2 separate regions of the Homo sapiens genome follow, and region 1 is linked to region 2. Evidence: promoter capture Hi-C in 16 types of primary human blood cells and fetal thymus (Javierre and others, 2016). All regions are on one chromosome and are shown on one strand. Each heading gives the region's core, a stretch centred on a gene start or on the middle of the fragment in contact. The rest is flanking DNA. Distances are from core to core; before and after follow the strand shown. Region 1 overlaps ZNF512 (zinc finger protein 512). Region 2 holds the start of FNDC4 (fibronectin type III domain containing 4).

The links. Contacts are between HindIII fragments. The CHiCAGO score rates a contact against its expected background, and 5 or more counts as called.
Region 1: a contact is called between a fragment that was not itself captured here and the fragment with the promoter of FNDC4 in region 2, in 1 of 17 cell types (endothelial precursors). The highest score is 5.7, in endothelial precursors.

Annotation. Positions count from the first base shown.
Region 1 is chr2:27,602,078-27,605,490 of GRCh38, reverse strand. ZNF512 (zinc finger protein 512) reads right to left here. Exons shown (of 14, transcript NM_032434.4): 8 at 2,930-3,028; 9 at 2,184-2,351. Among named protein-coding and RNA genes, the nearest start is that of ZNF512, 21 kb to the right of the region's middle. The HindIII fragment of the contact is 8,004 bases long and covers 1-3,413 here.
Region 2 is chr2:27,493,323-27,496,496 of GRCh38, reverse strand. It overlaps FNDC4 (fibronectin type III domain containing 4), which reads left to right and starts at 1,297. Exons shown (of 7, transcript NM_022823.3): 1 at 1,297-1,619; 2 at 1,794-1,950; 3 at 2,031-2,146; 4 at 2,363-2,567; 5 at 3,019-3,108. The coding sequence starts at 1,818. The HindIII fragment of the contact is 2,667 bases long and covers 107-2,773 here.

The sequences.
Region 1 (3,413 bases), core at 570-3,069, 110 kb before region 2:
AAAACAAAACACAACAATCTTTTCATTTTTTGTTTTTGAGTCAGGGTCTTGCTCTGTCACCCAGGCTGGAGTGCAGTGGCACCATCTCGGCTCACTGCAATCTCCGCCTCCTGGGCTCAAACCATCCTCCCGCCTCAACCTCCCAAGTAGCTGGGACTACAGGCGTGCACCACCCACACCCAGCTAATTTTTGTATTTTCTGTAGAGATGGGGTTTCACCATGTTGCCCAGCTGGTCTCGAACTCCTGAGCTCAAGCAATCCACCTGCATCAGCCTCCCAAAGTGCTGGGATTACAGGCATGAGTCATTGTGCCCAGCCCAAAAACCTTTGTGAATGTTTATAGCAGCTTTATTCGTAATCATCAAAAACTAGAAACAACCAAATGTTCTTCAACTGGTAAGCAGATAAACGACAAACTTGAAACATCCATATAATGAAATCCTAGTCAGAAAAAAAAAGGAATAAACTAATGATACATGCAACACATGGATGAATCACAAATGGATTATGGTAAATGAAAGAAGTCAGACTGAAAGGCTACATGCTGTATGATTCAATTTATATGACATTCTGAAAAGGGTAAAACTATAGGGTCAGAAAATAAATCAGTGGTTGCCAGAGGCTGTAGCTGGAGGAAAAGGCTGACTAAAGGGACACAAGTCAACTTGAGGTAGTGATGGAATTGTAAAACATCTTTTTTTTGTTTGTTTTGAGACAGAGTCTCACTCTGTCACCCAGGCTGGAATGCAGTGGTATGATCACAGCTCTGCAGCCTCAACCTTCTGGGCTCAAGTGATCCTCCCACCTCAGTTTCCCAAGTACTTGGGACTACAGGTGTACACCACCATGCCTGGCTTATTTTTTCATTTTTTGTAGAGACAGGGTCTCACTATGTAGCCCAACCTAGTCTCAAACTCCTGGACTCAGGCAATCCACCCACCTCAGCTTCCCAAAGTGCTGGGATTACAGGTGTGAGCTAAGGCACCCCGCCTAGTCTATGTGTTGAGTGTGATAGTGGTTACATGACTGTATACATGTGTCAAAACTCTTATAATTATGCACTAAAATGGTAAACATTACTATGTGTAAATTGTATCTTAACAAATGACTCTAAAAAAAAAGAAACCACAGGGTGGGAAACCTTGGAAATGTAATGAGAACAAAAAAATTTAAACCAAAAAAATGAGAGGAACCAGCTGGACAGATGCCCATAAAAGCTCTAGCTATGGGGGAATGCCTTTAGTTTTAAAAGTATAACAATGGGGCTGGGCACAGTGGCTCACGCCTATAATCCCAGCACTTTGGGAGGCCGAGGTGGGCAGATCACCTGAGATCGGGAGTTCGAGACCAGCCTGGCCAACATGGTGAAACCCCGTCTCTAATAAAAATACAAAAATTAGCTGGGCGTGGTGGCACGCACCTGTAATCCCAGCTACTCGGGAAGCTGAAGTAGGAGAATTGCTTGAACCCAGGAGGCGGAGGTCACAGTGAGCCAAGATTGCTCTACAGCACTCCAGCCTGGGCAACAGAGGGAAAGTCTGTCTCAAAAATATATAAATACATAAATTAATTAATTAATTAATTAAATAATGGGCTGAGCAGGGTGGCTCGCACCTATAATCCCAGCACTTTGGGAGGTCAAGGTAAGAGGATCACTTGAGGCCAGGAGTTTGCGACTGGCCTGTGCTACATAATGAGACCCCCGTCTCTACAAAAAATTAAAAACGAAGAATTAGCTGGGCATGTGACGCAAGCCTGTAGTCCTGGCTACTTAGGAGCCTGAGGCAAGAAGATGGCTTGAGCCCAAGAGTTCGAGGCTGCAGTGAGCTATGATCCCACCACTGCACTCTAGCCTGAGACAGCAAGATCTTGTCTCTTGAAGAAAAAAAAAAAAAAAAATATACACACACACACACTATATAAAAATATATAAGATATAAAATATATAATAATGAGTTTACTTCTGCCTGGACTATACTTTGAATTTTGATTTATCTAACCTAATAATGTTAAAAAGGCAGAAATAAGGACAAAGAACGAATAAAGAAGAGACAACACACAAGCATTCAGAGATTAAAAGAGGATACAAATGAGGAACCAAACACATATGGGAAGATAGAGGGGTAAGGACTCACCACGAAATACATCCCCACGCAGGGTATAGAAAGGAATCAGTACTCACAGGCCCATGCTCTGACCTCAGGTGATATGCAAGTCCAGCCTTCGACCTATATGGTTTTCCACAGTGGTGACATTTCAGGGTCATCTTTTCCAGCTCTGCAGCCCCTTTGCCACATTTTCTGACATGGTAGAGATATCCCATGATGCTGGTGAAGCTACTGGAGCAACTCTGAACAGAGGAGAGAAGCCTAAACTATAATCTTACATCTTTTGACATGATCCCTAAATTTCTAAACAGCCATAAAGCATTCACCACCACAAAATACAAATAGACCCTCTGATTTCAGTAGACCCTCTCCAACATCTCCCATCAGCACAACCCTTCCTTGTCTCTGGCCATCTTACTCTGATCAAGCATGATTTTCAATCAGCTTAGTCAGCCCTTGATAAACTATAACTGTGCATCTACTCTATGTCAGAGCTTTCTCCTTGGTCTGTGATCCAACCCCATCCCAATATCAAATACCCAGCAATATATACCAAAGTCCAGCACAGTGAGGGGTCACTGGGATCCTCTTCATCACATTAAAAAAAGGATGGTAAGGAAACCCCATCAAACAAAGGGAAGGGGGAGAAAAATAAATTTTTGGAAATAAGGAAGAAAATAAACAACTATTAATGATTCAAGAGACCAAGATAGTACAGAACTAGGAAGTCTACAATGAGGAAGAGAAGAAATGGAAAGAAGAACGAAAGACATTGACCTGAGAATTCAGGCAGAAGGAATTGCTGTCCTTGGGCCCTTACCTCACGCATGCACCTGAGCTTTCCCAGTCTCTTTAGAACTGTTCGGAGCCTTTCCCTCTCACTTGGCTCATCTATTTCATCTCCGGCTTTCAAAATGGGCTAGAAATCAAGAGAAGTAAACAAGAAGATGATTCATGGAAAAGATAAGACACAGGGAAAAAAAATATCAGAGGAGAATCAAGGATTGGACTGGCAGCTAAGCTGGTGCCAATGAAGCCCAAGTTTTCTGACTCCTGGTGTTCTCCATCTTCTCCTGGACAAAGGAAGTGAATATAATGGAAATAAGAGTTCTGAGCCTCTGACTCCCAAGATATGAACCTTTGGAGCTAACCTAAACACACAAATATTTATGGATTCACTGCAAAGGTTTCATTGTGCATAACTCTTTTATCAAAACGGTCTTCTTGCTAACACCCTTATAAAATCCCAAAGCCATCTGCACTGAGATATCTACACTCACATAAGTAAAAGACATCCAGGCCGG
Region 2 (3,174 bases), core at 48-2,547:
AAGTCAGAGGACCTGGCCCATGGCTTGATCACATGCTCAGCACACACAGTCAGTCCCACTGGTCCCATTTTATCCTCTCCTCTCAGAAAGGAAGGCAGTAGAAGCTTCTGAGCCCCAAGTGTGCACACACTGTACTGGATATTACAGCGGGAAAAATCCCACAGAAACAGAAATACTGCATTGAGAATTAGAAACCAAAGAATCTGCCCTAAATACAATGTTAGCCAACATTTATTTACACTGAACAACACACTTTTCACAGACAGTATCTCATTGGATACACCAACACTAAGATGTTGGTCAATATTGACACCCTCATTTTTCAGATGATGAAACAGGCTCAGAGTAGTTTAGTTGGTTGCTTAAGATCACACAGCTGGACAAATTGGGACTCACACCCAGGTTCTCAATTCAGATTTCAAGCTCAACCAAAGCATGATATAATGTAAGGGCTTACATGTTATTGAACAAAGAAGTAACTAACAGATTGGTGCAAATTAATCTCCATCATCCAGTCACATAGTGTTGTGAGATTTATAAAGATCTTTCCCGTCTCATTTGAGCCTCACAACAACCCTGTGAGATTTCACACGCTTTGCTTTACAGGTGGGAAACCTGAAGCACAGATAAACCAGTTTCTCCAAAACCACACCGTAAGTGGTAGAGCTTTAGAAAAACAAAAAAAGAAAAGAAAGGAATAATAATTTTTTTAAAAAAGCCATAGGTCTTTGCGCTTTGATTCTCCCGAGAAGCCCAACACTCTTAACAATCACTGTATCTCCAGGTTTTAATATAATGCCAGACACATAGGAGATGCTCAATAAATATTTGGTGAATAAATGAAAGAATGAATGAGAAAGCGAACGGAATTAAATGAGATTATGAATGGAAAAGAGACTTAAAAGCTGACGCAGTCTACAAGTAAGGGATTGTTAAAGCAATTATTATCTCCCTCACTCTCTCCCCTCTCCTGTTAGCCCCTCGGGCACTGGAGGTGGAATTCCTCTTCCCAACTTGGCTCTTCCACGCGGGGAGGAAGGGGATCTCCCAGGTGCCGGAGACCCTAGCACCCGCGTCTCACCCCCCACGCCCCCGCCGACTCGTCCGCTTCAGCTGGGAGAGAGAAGGGATAAGGGATGGGGGCTCCGGAGGCGCCATTGGGAGGGTCGTGGGAGGAGCCCCGAGAGGACGGGAGTGAGGGGGCGGGAGGGGAATGACGGCGGCGAGAACCCCGGCTGGGCGGGGCGGGCCCGCGCGTCCCGGCCGGGCTGCGGCGGAGCGAGCGGGGCCAGCGCTGCAGAAGGCGGCGGCTGGCTCTCCGGGACGGTCACATCCCGCTGCAGGGGCGGGCGGAGGCCGCCGCACTGCCTCCCGCACCGGGGACCCAGGCCAGCGTCCGGGCAACGCCCCCTGCTCCCGGACAGACTCCGTGGCCCGCTCGAGCCCTGGGGGCTCCGCAGACCCGCGCCCGCTCCGCCCGCAGCTCGGCCCCGCGCTGCCCGCGTCGCCGGGCCCGCGCCGGGATGGGGTAGGGGCAGCGCCACCGAGTCGGGCGATGGGCCGCCCTCTGGGCACCGAGCAGCCCCCCGAGGCCTGACCAACCGCGAGGACCGGCGGAGGTGGGTGTGGGCAGGGCGGACCGCACTCTGGGGCCGCCCGGGCAATGCGGGGGCGGGAGGGCGTAGAGAAAATAGGGCTGTTGTGAGCTGTGGGGAGCCCAGGAGAGCTGCTGCCCCCCGACCTCCGTGCGTTCTGGGCAGTCCTTGACCCCCCACAACTCCTGCCATCTCCAGGAGCCCCGCCTGGATGTCAAGCGGATGCCAAGCGGATGCCACAGTTCCCCCCCCAGCGGACTCCGTGGGGACATGGCTTCGCTGGTGCCCCTTTCCCCATATCTAAGCCCCACGGTCCTCCTGCTGGTCAGCTGTGACCTGGGCTTCGTGCGAGCAGGTAAGTAAAGGGGAACGGGGCTGAGGGTCAACCACAGCTAGTCAATGGGTGAAACCTGTTAAACACCCTGGCTCCCGCAGACCGGCCTCCCTCTCCTGTGAATGTGACGGTCACTCACCTCAGAGCCAACTCGGCCACTGTGTCCTGGGACGTCCCAGAAGGCAACATCGTCATTGGCTACTCCATTTCCCAGCAAGTATGAATCACCCTTCTGCTCCCCCAACCTGTGTCCTTGGATTTCGGCACATTTCTTCACTTAAGTGGGGGGGATCTGGAAGCTGGCGTATCCTGGCTCAGGCTGCCCTTTTCACGCTACTCCCCCGGAGTGCTTGGATGTTGAAGAGTCTCTGGTTGAGCCTTGTGGCCTGGCACTGGGGTGAGGCTGTCCTCCTCTCCCCTCATCTCCCTGCAGCGGCAGAATGGCCCCGGGCAGCGTGTGATTCGGGAGGTGAACACCACCACCCGGGCCTGTGCCCTCTGGGGCCTGGCTGAAGACAGTGACTACACAGTGCAGGTCAGGAGCATCGGCCTTCGGGGAGAGAGTCCCCCAGGGCCCCGGGTGCACTTCCGAACTCTCAAGGGTTCTGACCGGCTACCTTCAAACAGTTCAAGCCCAGGTGAGGATCTGTGCTATTGGATTCTCTGGCTGCTTACCTGGCTTGCAGCCTCTTACTTACTTCCCCAAGACAAGCAACAGACTAGCTGAGTTGAATAGGATGATTTAATTCATTGTACTGCCAGGAAAGGAAAGAAAAGCAGGTGGGAAGGGGATTGGGTATAGACAGGCTGGTATTGAGTTGTTTGGGGGAAGGCCTTTTAAGCTTCCTGTTACCCAACTTCACATCAGCTGCAGCCTGCATGAGTGAGTAATTAACCTGCAGCCATCCCGCTTTTTGGTCGCTAACCACCTGTCCACCAACGGCTTCCTCCCAGGGAGGGGCTACCCTACACTCCAAGGGCAACATTATGATGGGTCCACCCTTTCTAATCCCCAGCATCTCCATCCTGCATGTCTGCAGTATGGACCCCAGTAACCTGGAGTCTGCCTTCTGCCTTCTCCCTTCTCAGGTGACATCACAGTGGAAGGTCTGGATGGAGAGCGGCCACTGCAGACTGGGGAAGTGGTCATCATTGTGGTGGTGTTGCTCATGTGGGCTGGTGAGTAAGCAGCTAGACAGGGGACCAGGGACTCAGTAAAGGTGTGAGGTGGCAAAGGTTGTCAGG